Regions from separate parts of the Homo sapiens genome. Here all the other regions are linked to region 1. The links are contacts of gene promoters, found by promoter capture Hi-C in blood cells and fetal thymus (Javierre and others, 2016). All regions are on one chromosome and are shown on one strand. Each heading gives the region's core, a stretch centred on a gene start or on the middle of the fragment in contact. The rest is flanking DNA. Distances are from core to core; before and after follow the strand shown.

Region 1 (2,644 bases), core at 145-2,644:
TACACATGAAGACACCGAGGCTGGGAGAGATTAAGTAGTTTCTCCAAAGTCACCTGCCAGAGAGGAAGGAGCTGCGACTCTAATTTTGCTTTCTCTGACTTCACACCATCCCATTTTTCCAGAATCAAGAAAACATGAGCACTCAGGAATATTTTCACATTTTAAACTTTATTCAAAAAGCAGCACATAAGATATATCTTAGCACTAATTCCATGCAATCACCAAATTTTCCTAAACAACAGTAGTAGTAGTAATTTCTTAGAGTCGCTGTAAGCTCCTTAACTGTCTTCTGAATTAATAAGGAAAATTAAATTATGTTTTCTAGACTTTGCATTAGTATATTTCATTACTTTCCAAGTTTTCAAAAATTGGTGATCTGAGTAGAGTGAATTCACCTTGTCTAAGCCACTTAGGGGCTTAGAGACTCTGTTATCTTAGAAATCTTCACCTTAGAATTCTACCTATTACATTATACAATTAAACAAACTACTTTTTTTCTCATGCATTGTACCAATCAGCCCCTTAACTGAAAAAAGATGACCCTTGGAAGCTTAGAAGAGAATTGACAACGAATACTTCTTTTGCCAGGTCTTTGGGCTGGGATACAAAACATCACGTTATCTATGAATATATTGTGGTCCCTCAGTGAAAGCTGTCACCAAATATTGCAATAAAACTAAGAAAACTTTTGAAGTGGAATGCATATTTCTGCCCAGAAAATGCTGGATGCAGAACAACTAGTTCACTGCAGACAACTGTTTGCTTTAAAATGTAAGCAACATGCCCAGCTCAGGACTGAAGTGGCCAGAGTGCCTACTTTATCAGAATGGCATAGCAGTCCAACAATTTAGCCTAGAGAGAACAGAGGTGGAGAACAAAGAAGAGAAGTGAAAAAAACAGACCAGCCCTTCTGTTCTACATGACCTTCTTTCCCGTTTTGCCAATCTGATTTCACACATAGTGACTCATGGTGAAACAGAGAAAACATGGGAATTGCATTCAGATGTGTAGAGGTTAGTAAGACTTAGTTTTCAAAAGCAGCTCATTCTCCATTAACACTGTAGTCGCCTTCCATTTCATTTCACTTAGATTGGCATCTGCACAGCTGCCAAAATTTTTCTCTAAGTCAGAGAACACACTCCTAGGTAAACCTTCAAAAAAGGTATTTCGAAGGAGGCAGCTTCTCTGCTGCTAGAGAAGGCATTGCCACCTCCCTTCAGACAGGGGATTTCCGCTAGTTGCTTTCTGTCATTTCGTCTCTATTCTGCACTCAGTCCCTTGTTCTGTCTGGAGGTTCCTGTTTTCCTGTACCCAACCAAGAGCCAATGAAGAAGTAAAGAGGAGCAAACACGCCCGCCCACTCCCAATTTCCTTTGCTCTGCTGTCTGCCAACCGCAAAGCCGACCGAGACGGAGCCGCTGTCAACTCTCCAACTCAGCTCAGCTGATCGGTTGCCGCCGCCGCCGCCGCCAGATTCTGGAGGCGAAGAACGCAAAGCTGAGAACATGGACGTTAATATCGCCCCACTCCGCGCCTGGGACGATTTCTTCCCGGGTTCCGATCGCTTTGCCCGGCCGGACTTCAGGGACATTTCCAAATGGAACAACCGCGTAGTGAGCAACCTGCTCTATTACCAGACCAACTACCTGGTGGTGGCTGCCATGATGATTTCCATTGTGGGGTAAGTGGGGTCCCCCTACCCGGGACACCGATCCGGGGCGAGCACGGAGGGGCCTCGGGGTGCAAGATCCCGGGATGTAGAGACGCTCTCTGACCACGCTCAGCGCCTGCCCTGGCAATTCTGCAAGCGGCCAAGCCAGTGGAAACTTGTTTGCAGGGCGAGGCCGCAGTAACCTGGGGCCCCATTTTCTGCACCAAGGGCTGAGACTTGAGGGGGGCCCTAGGGGAAAGAGGACGGGGAAAATTTGCCAGCCGCAGGGAAGAAAAATGAGAGTTCCCCCACCCCCCTGCCCCCGCCCGCGTGCCAGGATCGGGCTCTTGCTGGAAAGATATTTGTAGCGCCCTCGTCTTTTAAAAATAAGAAGAAAAAGGAAAGTGGTGTAACCCTACCCTGGAGCTGGCTGGGGCGGCAGGGTGTGGACCCGGGCTAGTGTAAAAAGGGCAACCAAGTGGCGACGCACTTTGCTGCTTTCTCTGCCTAATGCCTGCCACACTGTACAGTAAAGCTGAGCTTGGGATCAAAAGGGGGGGTGTCTCCTGGTGGCGCATCTCCCATTGTGGGGTAAAGGCTGCCATGACTGTGGGAAGATGGCCTTCTGGCATTTTCTTCCAGCAGTGGCCAGGCGTGGTCACTTTCTCTGTCTTCGCTTCCTAGCCTGAGGTTTCAATGTATCAGAAGGCCTTTTCAATACCTGATACTTAACAAAGTATCCTGTGTTGAGACTGCATGTACACCTGCTTTCCTAGAAACCACCTTTCCTTCTAGTTCACCCTTTAAGAAATGCTTCTCTCGCTTATGCAGGATGGGTGGTGATATTCTCAATCTTGCTGATTATCTCCTACACATCTTTAAAGAAAAAGCCACCCTCAGACTTTATAAAGGACTCACTTGCACTTAAATGTCTGACATTTCTATTTCAGGGCAGACGTAGAGGGAAGAAGCAGCAAGCTGGCTTGGGAGAAA
Region 2 (2,644 bases), core at 97-2,596, 2.8 Mb before region 1:
TTCTTTGCTTATGAAGCTTAGTTTGGCTGGATATGAAATTCTGGGTTGAAAGTTCTTTTCTTTAAGAATGTTGAATATTGGCCTTTACTCTCTTTTGGCTTGTAGCGTTTCTACAGAGAGATCTGCTGTTAGTCTGATGGGCTTCACCTTGTAGGTAGCCTGACCTTTCTCTCCGGCTGCCCTTAACATTTTTTCCTTCCTTTCAACCTTGGTGAATCTGATGATTATGTGTCTTGGGTTGATCTTCTCGAGGAGTATCTTAGTGGTGCTCTCTGTATTTCCTGAATTTGAATGTTGGCCTTTCTTGCTAGGTTGGAGAAGTTCTCCTGGGTAATATCCTCAAGTGTGTTTTCCAACGTGGTTCCATTCTCCCTGTCACTTTCGGGTACACCAATCAATCGTAGGTTTGGTCTTTTCACATAGTCCGATATTTCTTGGAGGCTTTGTTCGTTCCTTTTCATTATTTTTTCTCATCTTGTCGTCACACTTTATTTCATTAAGTTGATCTTCAGTCTCTGATAGCCTTTCTTCTGCTTGATCGATTCGGCTATTGATACTTGTGTATGCTTCACGAAATTCTCGTGCTGTGTTTTCCAGCTCCATCAGGTCATTTATGTTCGTGTCTAAACTGGTTATTCTAGTTAGCTGTTCCTGTAACCTTTTATCAAGGTTCTTAGCTTGCTTTCATTGGGTTAGAACATGCTCCTTTAGCTCCGAGGAGTTTGTTATTACCCACCTTCTGAAGTGTACTTCTGTCAGTTTTTCATACTCATTTTCTGCCCAGTTTTGTTCCCTTGCTGGTGAGGAGTTGTGATCGTTTGGAGAAGAGGTATTCTGGTTTTTGGAGTTTTCAGCCTTTTTTTGGTGGTTTTTCCTCATCTTCATGGATTTGTCTGCCTTTGATCTTTGACGCGGATGACTTTTGGATAGGGTTTTTGCGTGGGTGTCCTTTTTGTTTTTGTTGATGTTATTGCTTTATGTTTGTTAGTTTTCCTTCTAACAGTCAGGCCCCTCTGCTGCAGGTCTGCTGGAGTTTGCTGGACGTTCATTTCAGACCCTGTGTGCCTGGGTATCACCACCAGAGGCTGCAGAACAGCAAAGCTTGCTGCCTGCTCCTTCCTCTGAAAGCTTTGTCCCAGAGGGGCACATACCAGATGCCAGCTGGAGCTCTTTTTTATGAGGTGTCTGTTGAACCCTCCTGGGAGGTGTCTCCCCATCAGGAAGCATGGGGGTCAGGGACCCACTTGAGGAGGCAGTGTGTCCCTTAGCAGAGCTCAAGTGCTGTGCTGCGAGATCCACTCCTCTCTTCAGAGCTGGCAGACAGGAACAGTTAAGTCTGCTGAAGCTGTGCCCACAGCTGCCTGTTCCCCCAGGTGCCCTGTCTTATGGAGATGGGAGTTTTATCTATAAGCACCTGACTGGGGCTGCTGCCTTTCTGTCAGAGATGCCCTGCCCAGTGAGGCAGTCTAGAGAGGCAGTCTGGCTACTGTGGCTTTGCAGTGGGTTCTGCCCAGCCCGAACTTCGCCGCAGCTTTGTTTACACTGTGAGGGGAAAACCACCTACTCAAGCTTCAGTAATGGTGGATGCCCTTCCCCTAACCAAACCCAATCACCCCAGGTCGACTTCAGAATGCTTTGCTGGCAGCAAGAATTTCAAGCCAGTGGATCTTAGCTTGCTGGGCTCTGTGGGGGTGGAGCCTACTGGGCAAGATCACTTGGCTTCCTGGCTTCAGCCCCCTTTCCATGGGAGTAAACAGTTCTGTCTCACTGGGGTTCCAGGTGTCACTGGGTACGAAGAAAAAAAAGAAACAACAGAAAAAAAAAAACTCCTGCACCTAGCTCTGCCCAAACAGCCACCCAGTTTTGTGCTTGAAACCCAAGACCCTGGTGGCGTAGGCACTAGAGGGAATCTCCTCGTCTGTGGGTTGCGAAGACTGTGGGAAAAGCATAGTATTTGGGCTGGAATGCACCATTCCTCATGACACAGTCCCTCAAGGCTTCCCTTGTTTAGGGGAGGTAGTTCCCTGGCCCCTAGTGCTTCTCGGGTGAGGCAACACCCCACCCTGCATCTGCTTGCCCACTGTGGGCTGCACCCACTGTCTAACCAGTCCCATTGAGATGAACCGGGTACCTCAGTTGGAAATGCAGAAATCACCCACCTTCTGTTATGGCCTTGCTGGGAGCTACATATCGGAGCTGTTCCTATTCAGCCATCTTGCCAGATCCCCCTGTTTGTTTGTTTGTTTGTTTTTCATGTAAATATAAGGTCCTTGTAGACTCTGGATACTAGACCTTTGTCAGATGGATGGATAGCAAAAATTTTCTTCCACTCTGTAGGTTGCCTGTTTGCTCTGATGATAGTTTCTTTTGCTGTGCAGAAGCTCTTTAGTTTAATTAGATCCCATTTATCAATTTTTGCTTTTGTTACTATTGCTTTTGGCGATTTTGTGATGAAACTTTTGCCTGTGCCTGTGTCCTCAATGGTATTGCCTAGATTTTCTTCTAGAGTTTTTATGGTTCTGGGTTTTACAGTTAAGTCTTTGATCCATCTTGAGTTAATTTTTATATAAGGAAGGGGTCTAGTTTCAGTTTTCTTGATATGGCTTGCCAGTTCTCCCAGCACCGTTTATTAAATAGGGAATCC
Region 3 (2,644 bases), core at 46-2,545, 2.6 Mb before region 1:
GGCTGCCAGTGCTAACCTGCATTTTCCAAACTGAATCCAAACAGGGAGTAACTCTCTTTTTTTTCTCTCCTGCTTTACATACTTCAATGCTGTCTAATGGAATAGCAGGAACAAGGCCAAACAGCCCCACTTCTCTTGGCACTTGGGCCAAGGAACAGAAATGTATTTTTAGTCAGCAGAGCAAGGTGCAATTCTAAGTGCCACAGGCCCGTGGGGCAAACTGGGGGCCCTGCCTGCCTCTGGCACAGTGTGGTTCAGAGTCACCTGCCACGCTCCTGCCCCGAGTGCATGGGGTTAAAGGAGTGATGCAAAGGCGTTTGTGTCTGGTCTCAGTTCCACCTCTCACTTTTACAACTTATAAGACCTCCAGGGAGGCTCAGTTTCCTCTCTGACAACACAGAGATATTCTCTGTGGCCCTAGCTTCCTCACTATGTGAGGAACAAGAGCAGTTACATCAGCATTTCTCAAACTTGAACTCGTGGACAAACGGCCAGGGCCCTTGTTAAATGGAGCTTCTGATCCAGTAGTGTTGGCATTAAGCCTGAGGTTCTGCATTTCTAACAAGCTCGAAGCTAACTCAATACTGATGGTCCATGACCTGTGCTTTAAGCAGCAAGGAGCTCCTAGCATCTTCAAGTGCTTTGCTTTATGGACACACAACAGGTTATCACATCCCTATCAGCCTCACATAAGACGAACTCATTGATTAAGCCAAAAATTAAACACCTTCCAGATGCTGGGCCCACAAACCAAGTGGGTACAAAATAAAGTCAGACCTTTACCCATCAAGGGAACAAAGGGCCACAAACCTTCCTTCCAGCACTTCACAGAAACAGAGACTGACTCTTAAATCCTGCGGCCTTAAAGGTGAGATCCTGCCAAGATCCAAGGAGCTACGTGACAACTAGCCACCAGCCAATGACAGTAACCACCATTTGTCAAACACTCCCACAGAATGCTGGGAGCTTCATATACATTCCACTCCCCCGGGCCTCACTTTCCTCATGTATAAAATGGGTCAAAAATGCATTATGTAAATGAGGGAAACGAGGTTCAGAGAGACTAGGTCATCTGTCCAGGGCACAGAGTGAAGTGCAATTCTAACCCCCCACGCTCTCCTGCAATCCCACAATGCCATGAAAAGGGTTAAACCCAAGACCATGTTTCACAGGGACACAGCACCTCCTGAACACAGGGCATGCTGCCAGCCAAAGATCCGAGATCTGTAAGCTATGCCAGCACTCTTATTAATAGCACCTTCTTGCAAAGTTTCTCTGCTCAGCCTGCCGAGCCTCAGTATTGAGAAAAGATTCATATAGGTGAGCAAACTAATTATAAAACCAGCAAAATCAAAATAAAATTAAACTATGAAAGCCTGGAGTGGAAACAGGAAATTCAGTGTGAAGAGGGAGGTGCTCTGCTGGGGAAGCTGCCAATAAAATCTGGCAGAGAAAACTGTTGGACTCATGGCTGGTTTATCTGGAAAGTCTTCTGGGTGAGTTTAAAACAAGCAAGCTCCTCCACCTGACTGCTGAAGAAATAGGGGTAGGATCAGTGCTCAGTTCTCTAGCAAAGGTTTGTAACAGCACAAATGATAATATTCCCAATGGGTGCCTTCATGTCTTTTTAGCTAAGGCCCTTCATCTGCTTTTTCATTTCCAGTGTGCTGTCTAGAACAAATAGATCGCATCTTATCTAACACTTGACCATGACAACATAGTTTTACGTTGATTCCAGAGGCCTGGGGGCACTTTCTTTTTCTTAAAGCCACAAAAGTAAACTGAGTCACATTACCCAATTCACTGGCACAAAGATTAGCTTGCTGTCTTATAACTGACACAGCTTCCTTTAACTCCAGTTTTACTCAAAGTTGCAGCTTAACCAACCACAGAAGCAAGAAATCTAGTTCCATATACCTCTGCGCATTAAAAAAAAAAAAGACAAAAGACCTACTTTCTTGCAAATTAAAGATGAGGTAAAACTTCCAGCGTTTAATTCTGCAAATCCCAAAACAGCAAGCAAAGCGTTTGTCATGATCATGAGGGCCACATGAAGAAAGGTCTTTCTTCACCAGCGAGCACATGAACTCAAGTTATCCTGCCACCAGGTATCAGCAAGGCAACAAACACCATGGCCCCACCACACAGCCCAGAGTCCCCCAAACGGCACCACTTACAGAAAGAGAGAGACGACATGTGATGAAGCAGCGCCCAGGGATGGTACCGCTGTCAACTCATTATTATTGAGGTACCTGTAACAACAACAAGAAATTAATCATGTAAGGCATTTGAATTAGTCTGAAATCATACACATACAACAGAAATAAACAAACGCTGCTAAGTCTGCCACAGTAAACCTATATTCTAATGTTGGAGAAAAGAGAAAGAATTTAGCAGTGAGTTTTTAAAGGGAAAGAAGTCACATGAGATCACAAAAACTAGCCACTGATCACACCCATGGCTAGAAACAAACACTAAGGGGAAGCATCTCCTGTCTCCCATCAGCTTCCCATCAAACTCAGAAATCAAGACAAGGAACAGTGAGAACAAGCCAAGAGGCAGGTTCGGGACAAAAGCGCCCCTAAGACCATCGGTGAGAACACTCCCCGTGGGCCGAAATTTGCCCCTGTCAAAGGGCAACATG
Region 4 (2,644 bases), core at 77-2,576, 2.5 Mb after region 1:
GCATAAAGTTCCATGCTATCCAGATAAGACTATTCACTGAATCTTTTAGACTAGAATCTAGACCAATAAAATGCATTTTAGTTTGTATGGAATGTCCTAGCTTCCTAGAGGCTAGGGTTCGACGTCTTGTTTGTCAAGACATAAAGGGATTAATGACATACCCACTGTGTGCTAGACCACAGAGTGGGCACAGAGGGATGAAAAAATAAAAATTCCTGCCCTTGAGGAGCTCACAGTCTAAGCTGTCAATAATAACATCTAACATTTATTAAATACTATGATCTAGGCACTGAACTAAAAGCTTTATGTCAACTCAGTTAATACTGCCAACAACTCTTTGACATCACTGGAAATTCCATATGCTGAATTCACACGGAATTAAGTGGAAATCTACAAAGTAGCCAGTCTACTGGTTCTGTAGTGGTCAACCTATTAAAAATGGTTTTTAATTTCTAAAGTACTTTATGCCAAATATAACATGTTTATGGTATATGCCTGACTGTAGAATTATAACTCAGGGGAATAACGACTTATTTAAATGTAACAGATCTATTCATAGTCTGTAAAGAACAATTCATCCTCTGATCTTGTTTTTCAGATTAAGCAGTGTGTTTATTAAAAATTATTATCATCGCAATACTAAAAAGATCTTTAGATTGCTGCTAATCTGATTCTGCATTTTAACTGCCTTAAATTCTACATTCACTTGCAAGTGGGGGCCACAGTCAGGTTGGCAACAAGTTTTGCAGACAAAAGGAAATCCTGGTTGTAAATCCCATGATATATTGTACTCAATTTTGTATGATACTGTCTAATGTGCTGTGCTGCCTTATTAAAGAACTCGATGTCCATTTGGTTTACATTAGAGGGAAACTTAACTGCAGCTTAACATATTGTTCATTTTCAACACTGTCACGTTACATTCGTGGGGGGCAGATTTTAATTTCTTTATCAGTAATCAACTGGAAGTTTCTTTTTGTTAAATTAAAGCAAGAAAGGTTTTAAAATAAAGGGCATGGGGGTAGGACGCCACCTTTTGGTGATAAAACAAATAGAAATCCCTTCTGAAAACAGATGTTCCTGACATAATTTTATTTTTAATTACACCAAGGCAAAGGTGCTTGTCCCCATTTCGTTATATTTTAAGTAACAGGAGAAAAAAAAAACCAATGTAAATGCAAAATTAGCAAATTATAGTTAACTGCAGCCAAAATTTTCCCAAACGTATCAGAATATGTTAGTCCCCTGTCACATTACTGTTGATTGTATACACCAAACATGAGCTTCATTCACCAAATACCATGTCACTAAATATATGTACATTTGGGGAACAGAAACTGGAGTGGACATTTACCACCTGACGACGTACCTGAATGCTCTTGTAAGTTTTGAGTTGAACAAAAACTAAAACCACTTAATTTAGTGTTTCTTTAACCACAGTTACTGGTGTCCTGATTTTTGCCATATCTATATGACATAACAGTTCCCGAATAATTAATATACCATACTCATTGGAGGCCACTTATTATGGTAATTGTAGCAAACATTTTCATTTAAATCAACCTTCTTTTAATTTTTTTCTATTACTGCCTTAAATGGGAAATCAGTATCACCCACCATAAATTAAAAACAAGCACAGTAAAAACAAAGTCACTGATTTCTCTTTGAGGGTCAAAACAAAAATTAAAAATGATTTTTGAAAAAAGGAGGGAGAGTGGCAAATGTTGAGAAGGGTTAAGGACAAGAGTATCAATGGAAATTTTTGAATTTTTGTTTTTTCTCTCTCTTTTTTTCTGTTTTTTTTTTTTTTTTTTTTTTAACAACCAGAAGGATTTAAAGTGATCGGAAAGGAATACAGTTCTCAATGTGTGATTCAGTGTTATGCCATCCTAGTGCCAAGGTTCCTACACTTTAAAAAACATGGGCATAACTAAGAATATCGCATTACAGATGAGGAATCTAAGGCCCAGGGATTTCATTTGCCCTCCAAGGCAAAATAAATTTGGTTACTGGTTGGACAAGGATTAGAATCCAGGTGTCCTGACTTTGTGGGTTTCCATCTCACTCTTTCCACTAAAGTGACCAATCCTCAGACTTAAGTGGTTTGTCTAGCTTCTCAGAAACAGCTAACCTACAGACCCCTTTACAGATCTGGGAGAAACTGAGGCCACAGAGGGTCAAGAACAAGTTCAACCCCCTGCTCACCGTCCTTTCTCTCCACCCTCTCTCCATAGATGTGACAGACATCCAGGTGGGGGTCAACACAGCAAAGAAAGAAGGGAGGGTTGAGAAGAGAAAAGTGGATTCAGAGAGGGGAGGTTAGTAAGCGTGGGCAGACCATTCTCTAAATGAAAGCTTAAACTCAGTTGCCTTCCAAGAAGATAAAAATGGCTAATGAAAATCATGTGCTTCACAGTAAGTGGTAAGAGGAGCCCATCCTCTGTGTCCTCATGTCCCTATATGTCCACACCGGAAATCAGCAGGGGATCTCTTGTTTTAAAGTATACAATATTAACAGGCACACTCTGAGACAAAACCACATTTGATAATTTGAGTGGGTGGAAAAGCTAGTCAGGGAACGGGGAATGACCCTAGCTTAAAAAGTGTTTTCCCCCACAACAAAACTTAAGAGGCTCAGAGTTAA
Region 5 (2,644 bases), core at 45-2,544, 2.1 Mb before region 1:
TGTAAGCATTTATTGATACATAACATATCAAACAGTGAGCTAGTTGATAGAAATGTAAAGAATATAAAGAATTGACTACATGCGTTCAAAGCAGCATGCATAGACCTTACTTAAATACATGGTACCAAGTGAAAAAGTTAGAAACAAATTGAGATCCATAGCATGATACCATTATATAAACCATAAGAGCACATAATCAACACATATTCAATACATTAATACATATTTTACAAGAACAGAAACACAGGATCCACATCAAACCCATTATAATGGTTGTATTTGAAGTTGGAAGAGGATGGAAGTAAAGAATGGGGATTGAAGGCAACAGTACATATGTAGCAAAAGAGATGGGGCATATGGACCAAAGATAATATTGTGTTGTGAACCAAGAAGTATAACTCTACGCTGTGAAATGGATATTTAAAAGGAAAACAAACAAACTACCTTTAAATAATAAACAAAGTACACTTATGTAAACTTTAATAGTGCTGTTAACAAAGTGGGAGAACATACAGCACAGAGGACCACAGAGCAGGTAGAAGGAGGATGTTGTAGAACACTTGTTCTCAACTGCGATGATTTTCCCCCAGAAGACATTAGACAATGTCTGGGGCCATTTTAATTTTCGTAACTGAGAGGTGGGTGCTACTGGCACCTAGTGGGTGGAGGACAGAGATGCTGCTAAGTATCTGACGATGCACAGGGCAGCCCCTACAACAAAGAATTGTCTAGCTGAAAATGCCAAGAGTGCTGAGATAAAGAAAAACCATGTGTAGAACAACCAGAAAAAAATCCCTGAAATTATTGTGACATGTCAATAGATTTGATTTATAAATATTTGATTATTTGGGGGATTAAAATATAATCAACTACTCATCCTCTATGTTCTCTCTGCTGGGTTTAAGGAATTCCTTTCCAAACACCTGATGCCTATTCTTCATGAATTTCAGTTCCTGTGTCTACACACTGATGATTACTGATCCCTGATTCTCCTTACACTTAGAGTTTTTAGTGATTCCATGGACTTAAAAAAAATCAAATCATAATTGGGGTTAGAAAGAATCAACAATCATTGTTTAATTCCATTAGTTCTATTTGGGTTATAAGCCAATCTTCAAACAGAGAAGAGTGCTGATGTCTCACATTTTGACAGTGGCTTTGGCTCATGCAATCATTCTAAGTTTGAATATTACTGAATAAATTAAGGGTAAAGTAGAGTAATTCTATTCAGGATCTCCAATCTGGTACAATAATTCAATCTTTCAGTAGAACAGTGAAGCAGTGTCTACTTAATAAATATGGATGGCTAATCACACACATATATATTTTAGCCACTTCTTTTCATTATTTAGTGAACAGACAAAACATGCTAAATCACTATACCTCTAAAATTATAAATTTGGTTTGACAAAGTCAAATTAGTTTAATGGTATGACATATATCCCTCTAGTCTTTCCTTTTTTTTTTTTTTCAATTTCTTGGGGCGTGAAACCATCTCAAACCTATACCAATAATTCTGTCCATTCATGACAGATATTGATTGACCTTGTGTTAGACAAAGAACCAGACATGTTCAATAGGGAGAAAATCCTACACTTCAATTTCAATACTCCATTTATTCCCAGACCTTTACATGCTGTTATCAAAAGACAGTTGGCTTTGGAGCCAAAGACCCCTAAAAGACTACGGGCAGGTTATTGAAATTCTCAAGGCTTTGGTCACTTCATTGTAACTTTGTTCTTAGAAAATTTAATTAAAAGGTGAAATTAAGTGCAATAAAGTAGGTAACACAACCATTAATTCCTTTTCCTTGTTCTATTCCTAAATTAAGCCCTATCAATATTAAAGTGAATGCTTTACCTTCTGGGTCAAGCCAAGATAAAGCAATTAGGCAAGAAAGTACTCCACATCACTTTTGCAAATAGTTCTATGGTGTATCCTCTTTGGATGCTCAGCTTAAATCCCACACCAGCTGAACAGAATTTCTTATCTCTTTCGAAATCCTTAATATTAATTGTTGGAAATACTTATTTTATGCTAACTAGGGGTTGCCCTTAGTTCTCATTTTCTAGTTGATTTTCATGGGAATAAGTTTTATTTTCACAGATAAACCATAAGATCCTTGAGATTAGGAATCTCATATCTCTACATCCATCTAATCTTTATCTATCTATCTATCTATCTATCTATCTATCTATCTATCTATCTAGTTTTGTATAGGAAACATTGATTCAGACAGTGCCTTCTTAGAATGCAGGTTGTGGGAGGAGGCAATCAATATTTCTGAGGAACTGAATATTACTGCCACTAGCTTCAAAGTCTTTTTTTCATGTATATGCTAAATTCCAAATACTTAAAAATTAATGCACATTAATATCCTCCAGTATGATCAAATTCAGTGATTCATGAAATGCAATCTTCTAGTTATTACCATGTTGAATCCTCATATAACCTCAAAGGGAATAAAAAACTAAAAATACAACAAAGCCCAGTGGTGCCCAATCAGTAAACCTAATGTTAGTATCTATTTAGAGTTTTGTATTTAAAGAAACTAAATCATGGGCAATATATAAAGTTTTAGAAATTTTAAAAAACTTTGTGTATCTGATGTCATATTAAATTTATATTGAATAATCACTTTTGT
Region 6 (2,644 bases), core at 90-2,589, 2.1 Mb before region 1:
CAGTGTTGCAAAGTGATATCTGACTAGTGAGTGTTGCAGAATTAAAATCTGGTAAAAAATCATGAAATACCTTATGTCATGATAGAATGGAATGAGATTTTAATCTATTGAATACCTGTCCTCTGGTAAAAAATGAACTACTTTATGTATATAATACTTTTTAAATTCTAAAGCAAGTTAGTTCACTTATATTGGTAAATTCTTTGTTCTGTTTGTTCTGGCCTAAAATCTTGTTATGTTTGACTCTTTTGTGTTGGTCCACTTTGCATTACCGTAAAGGAATACCTGAGATTGAGGCCTCAGGAGGCTTTAGCTCATGGCAGAGGGTGAAGCGGGAGCAGGAAAGAGAGGGAGCCAGAGAAAGTTGGGGGAGGTTCCTGTCTCTTTAACAATGGGATCTCACATGCGCTCATTACCATAGGGAGGGCACCAAGCCATTGATGAAGAATCCACCCCCATGATCCAAATACCTTCCACTAGGCCCCACTTCTTCCAACACTGGGGATCACATTTCGACATGAGATTTGGAGGGGACAAATGCCCACACTATATAATCTCTTACGTATTTCATGTTTAATTCATCAGAAAGTCCCGTTGCTTCTTCCTTCATAATACATCCAGACTCAGACCACATACCATTTGCACCACTGTCACCCTAGTCTAAGCCAGCTTATCTTATCTGACTTAATGCAGTTTCCACTGACTGGTCTTCCTTCTATCACCCTTGACCCCTCATAACCTATTCTTTTCTCCACACAGTACTCAGAGTGATCCTCTTAAAACACAAGTCAGATCATGTTTCTCTTCTGCTCAGATCCTTCCAATGGCTTCCCATCTCCCTTCATATGACAGCCAAACTCCATACTTACATGATCCACCCCTCTCAAACTTGTTGCCATTTACTTGGCTTGCTCTATTTTAGCCACACTGACCTTGCTTGTTGCTCAAACCTGCTGAGCACCTCCACAGCGACTTTGCCCTTGCTGTCTCTTTTGCTGGATAGATCTTGACAACTCACTCACTTTCTTTTTTATTAAAACATCACCTTACTGGAGAGGCCTTCTCTGATCACATTTTGTAAAATAAGATCATCCAACCCCACCCCCATCATACCTCCTGCTTTATTTTTCTGCTTTATTTTCCATATGTGTCTTCCCCCATTGAAATGTACACTCCACAAAGGCAACGAATTTATTTTAATTCACTGTTGCACTTTAGATTGATGCCTAGCACATAGTAGGCACTCAATGAATGCTTGTGGGAAGAAATGAATTTTCAGTTAAGTCTTGGAGCCTAAAGGATTACCAATTTTATTGGTCTTTTCAAAAAAAAAAAAAACCAGGTTTAGTTCTAATGAATTTTCTCTATTGTTTTGTGTTTTCGGTTTCATTGATTTCTGTTCTAATTTTTATAGTTTTTTTTCTTCTGGTTGCTTTAAGTATTAATAACTCATCTTTCTATTTCTTTTCTTTTTTTTGAGACAGGGCCTTACTCTGCCCAGGCTGGAGTGCAGTGACGCAATCTTGGCTCACTGCAGTCACCTCCACGGCTCAAGAGATCCTCCCACCTCAGCCTCCTGAGTAGCTGGGACTACAGGCGCACGCCACTGTGACCAGCTAATTTTCATTTTTTTTTTTTTTTTTTTTTTTTTTTTTTGTTAATACGGGGTTTCACCATGTTGCCCAAGCTGATCTCAAACTCCTGGGCTCAAGTGTTCTGCCTGCCTCAGTCTTCCAAAGTGCTGGGATTATAGGCATGAGCCACTGTGACTGGCCTTCTTTTCCTAATATATGCATTTAATGCTATAAATTTTCCTTTAAGTATTTCTTTTGTAGAATCCCACAAATTTTATTTAGTATTTTCATTTTCTTAGTACAAAATATTTTTATCATGTCTTCTTGGGGAATATACCCTTTCATAATTATGTAATTGCTTCTCTTTATCCTTGATAATCTTTTTTCTGAAGTCTTCTCTGTTTGAAATTAACATAGCCACTCAAGTTTTCTTTTAATTACTGTTTGCTTCATTTATCTTTCTCCATCCCTTCTCTTTTAACCTATCCTAATCTTTATACTTAAAAGGGCTTTCTTGTAGACAACTTACAGTTGGGACTTATTTTAATATCCATTGTGAGAATACTGGTATGTTTAGACCAGCATTGCATTTAAAGTGAGTACTGATATAGTTGGGTTAATATTTAACATATTGGTTATTGTTTTCTATTTGTTGCCCTTCTTCTTTGTTTCTTTTTTTCACCTATTTTCCTGCTTTCTCTGGTTTTGACTGAGCATTTTATATAGGATTCTATTTTATCTCCTCTTAGCACTTCAATTATACTTTAATTTTTTTTTCAGTGGTTGCATTAGACTTACAATATACATTTCAAAACTAATCTAAGTCCACCTTTAAATAACACTATACTGCTTCGTGTGTAGTGTAGGTATCTTAGAACAAAGTTCCCAATTTTCCCCTCTGATCCCTCATGACATTGCTGTCATTCATTTTAGTTATCCATATGCTATAACCATGCAATACATTGTTATGATTAAAGTCATACTTTTAGATCAATTGATATTTAAAAAATAAGATATTTTACTTCATCTTCACTTATTCCTTCAGTATTCATTTATTTAGGCAGATCTAA
Region 7 (2,644 bases), core at 49-2,548, 2.1 Mb before region 1:
CTGTACAAGGAAATGCAATTTTTTAAAAAAGTAACACTATAGTAGTGTTGACTTATCTTTGTGGGGCTCAAATGTTAGTTTATTCAGCAACTCTTTATTGTGCTCCTAATATGTGCCAGGCAATGCAATACAGCAGTGAAGACCTCAGTAATGATCTTGATCTCTTGCCACTTATGGTTTAATAGGAGGTACAGATAAACCTTCAACTAAATCATACAACAGAGCTAGGCTGTGAAAGAGGAAATGCAGGTGGAAGCTGTACCTATCTAACCCAGGCTGCTAAGCTGAGTCCTGAAGATAAGACGGAGGAGTTTGCTAGGCATAACAGAGTGGGAAGTGTGGTGCATACATAAAAGGTACAGAGGTACAAAGGTACAGAGGAGAAAGAAATGTGCATTCCGAAATGGAAGGAAGTTCATCATGGTGGAGATGAGTTGAGAGAATGAAGGACTATAAATGAGTGGTTCTTAATCAAGGCAGACTTTGGCCCCAGGGAACATTTGTCAATTTCTGGCAACACTTTTGGTGTCACAAGTGGCAGAGGGGGCTGCTATTAGCTTGTAGTGGGTAGAGGTCAGGGAAGCTGCTAAACATCCGCCAGTGCACAGGACAGCCTCCACAACAAAGACCAGCTCTCAAGGTCAGTAATGCTTAAGCTAAGAAACTCTGTAATATTAAAAGATAAACCTGTACACTTGGGGTTAGATTACAAAGCTACTGAAGGAATTTGGGATTTATTCTAGGAATTTGGGGGCACCACTGAAAGATTTTAAGCACATGTTGTTTGTCACTCTGAGAACCACTTTATTGTTATGGCTGAACCTCAGTATTTTAAAATCTATACTAAGTCTCACTCATGTGGGCTAACCATTGTGCCTACTACAAATGACATCTCCCTATTTTACAAAGGTGGAAAGAGCATCATTGTGAAATGTTCGCTAAAAGTTTAAAAAAGAAGATGAATTAATTATTTGATCCTCACCAGTCACAACATAATTATTTCAAAAACGTGTATTTATTTAATTGGGCTCCTTCCTGTCACACAGGGTTGAGCGTGGGGGGTCTACTCTCATGAATCTAAAGCACTTCTGGAGATTAATGGAAAATACACTGGGCCAAGGCAAGGTTACAACCTGAAATAAATAACTAAGCTTGTACATTCAGAGCAAAGGGTTTCCTAATTTAAAAAAAAACTTAGTTCCAGACTCTTTTGAACATCTGATGACACTATGGCCTCTTTTTATTTTTATTTTTATTTTTATTTTTTTTACAGAAATATGCACTTATACTCCCAAGTATTTAACTTCAGAGGCTCACAGACCCTAGAGAGATACAGTGGCTTCTCACTTGATACTGATGTTCCTAGAAATATCTAATGGCCAGATTTATAACAATAGACATTTGCCAAAAAAAAAAAAGTATAGCATAATTTAGAATCAATCAGAGAAAGCTTAGCATTTCTTAATCAAGGAGCAACTCTTTCCAAAAATGCTCATCAAGATACCATTTACGTCAACTTGTAAAATATAAATAATGTTGCATCACAGCAAAAAAAGTCTAGGGAAATGAGCAATTTTTTTATGACCCATAATGAAGACAATGTGTTGCTCTGGTTACAATAACCTCTGTGAGAAACAATTCTGTAAACCATGTGCTTTCTGCTGATTCCTTTCCATCTAATCATTACTTTCTCTAAAAATAGTGATTGATTATAGGCTCCGTGTCTTGCAAATTGGAAGAAAGGGTGAACTGATACGTGCTTGAGTTCATCACAGTTTTTTTGTTCTACAATCAAGTACCAGACTTTGGATTCCCTTTACCTTCTTTGACTGCAGATGTCCCAATGGTCTTAGTCATGACGAAACTGCCCCCAAACACCCGCATCTTATACAGACACACATGCACACACACATACACACACATATGTGTGCACACACACACACACCCTCTTCAGTTCTTTGAAGGGCTTAATGCATGCTTATATAAAGGTTTCTATCTATTTTGATGCCATCACCATTAACTCAATTCTACTTCTTGATTTGCCAGTGTGCCCTATCATTTTTCTCACTTGCTAGTTCTGTTCAGAGAATCTGTGTCAGCTTTACCTCCAATTCTCACTGTGATTTCTAGTAATCTGAACCACTTGAACCTGATTCCATTATATTGGGATTTTGTGTACTATAAATATTAGTCATAGGCCAGGTGCAGTGGCTCATGCCTGTAATCCCAGCACTTTGGAAGGCCAAGGCAGGAGGATTGCTTGATCCCAGGAGTTCAAGACCAGCTGGGGCAACATAGGGAGACCATGTATCTACAAAAAAAAAAATGTTTAAAAGTTAGCTGGGTGCAGTGACACATGCCTGTAGTTGCAGCTACTGAGGGCTGAGAAGGAAGGATTGGTTGAGCCCAGGAAGTCATGGCTGCAGTGAGCTGTGATTGTGCCACTCTACTCCAACCTGGGCAACAGAGTAAGACCCTGCCTCAAAAAATAAAATAAAGTAAAATAAAATAAAATAAAATAAGTCAAAATCGAGGTATCAGTGGGGGCTGCAGTTCTCCCCTGGCACTCAGGGTCCTCTTAGGAGCTTCTTGCTTACTTGCAGAACTCATTTCCCTCTCATGCTTTTTATGTGACTGGCTCCAC

Evidence for each region. The method cuts DNA at HindIII sites, captures the fragments that hold promoters and counts their contacts. A CHiCAGO score of 5 or more calls a contact.
Region 2: a contact is called between a fragment that was not itself captured here and the fragment with the promoter of ARL6IP5 in region 1, in 1 of 17 cell types (non-activated CD4 T cells). The highest score is 5.7, in non-activated CD4 T cells.
Region 3: a fragment that was not itself captured here is called in contact with the fragment with the promoter of ARL6IP5 in region 1 in 1 of 17 cell types (non-activated CD4 T cells); the score reaches 5.2 in non-activated CD4 T cells.
Region 4: a contact is called between a fragment that was not itself captured here and the fragment with the promoter of ARL6IP5 in region 1, in 1 of 17 cell types (naive B cells). The highest score is 5.6, in naive B cells.
Region 5: a contact is called between a fragment that was not itself captured here and the fragment with the promoter of ARL6IP5 in region 1, in 11 of 17 cell types (total B cells, naive CD4 T cells, fetal thymus and 8 more). The highest score is 32.1, in total B cells.
Region 6: a contact is called between a fragment that was not itself captured here and the fragment with the promoter of ARL6IP5 in region 1, in 5 of 17 cell types (total B cells, erythroblasts, total CD8 T cells and 2 more). The highest score is 13.4, in total B cells.
Region 7: a contact is called between a fragment that was not itself captured here and the fragment with the promoter of ARL6IP5 in region 1, in 2 of 17 cell types (total B cells and naive B cells). The highest score is 7.3, in total B cells.

What each region holds. Positions count from the first base shown.
Region 1 is chr3:69,083,543-69,086,186 of GRCh38, forward strand. It overlaps ARL6IP5 (ARF like GTPase 6 interacting protein 5), which reads left to right and starts at 1,395. Exons shown (of 3, transcript NM_006407.4): 1 at 1,395-1,681. The coding sequence starts at 1,506. RefSeq lists an enhancer at 1,166-1,475. The HindIII fragment of the contact is 15,418 bases long and covers 549-2,644 here.
Region 2 is chr3:66,310,737-66,313,380 of GRCh38, forward strand. All of the region lies in intron 5 of SLC25A26 (solute carrier family 25 member 26), which reads left to right. Among named protein-coding and RNA genes, the nearest start is that of SLC25A26, 91 kb to the left of the region's middle. The HindIII fragment of the contact is 441 bases long and covers 1,127-1,567 here.
Region 3 is chr3:66,449,382-66,452,025 of GRCh38, forward strand. It overlaps LRIG1 (leucine rich repeats and immunoglobulin like domains 1), which reads right to left. Exons shown (of 19, transcript NM_015541.3): 3 at 2,178-2,252. Among named protein-coding and RNA genes, the nearest start is that of LRIG1, 50 kb to the right of the region's middle. The HindIII fragment of the contact is 4,284 bases long and covers 1-2,644 here.
Region 4 is chr3:71,585,711-71,588,354 of GRCh38, forward strand. It overlaps FOXP1-DT (FOXP1 divergent transcript), which reads left to right. Exons shown (of 1, transcript NR_182289.1): 1 at 1-1,699. Among named protein-coding and RNA genes, the nearest start is that of FOXP1-DT, 2.1 kb to the left of the region's middle. The HindIII fragment of the contact is 2,054 bases long and covers 300-2,353 here.
Region 5 is chr3:66,992,623-66,995,266 of GRCh38, forward strand. No RefSeq gene overlaps it. Among named protein-coding and RNA genes, the nearest start is that of KBTBD8, 4.4 kb to the right of the region's middle. The HindIII fragment of the contact is 8,708 bases long and covers 1-2,644 here.
Region 6 is chr3:67,011,215-67,013,858 of GRCh38, forward strand. No RefSeq gene overlaps it. Among named protein-coding and RNA genes, the nearest start is that of KBTBD8, 14 kb to the left of the region's middle. The HindIII fragment of the contact is 4,490 bases long and covers 1-2,644 here.
Region 7 is chr3:67,033,012-67,035,655 of GRCh38, forward strand. No RefSeq gene overlaps it. Among named protein-coding and RNA genes, the nearest start is that of KBTBD8, 36 kb to the left of the region's middle. The HindIII fragment of the contact is 299 bases long and covers 1,150-1,448 here.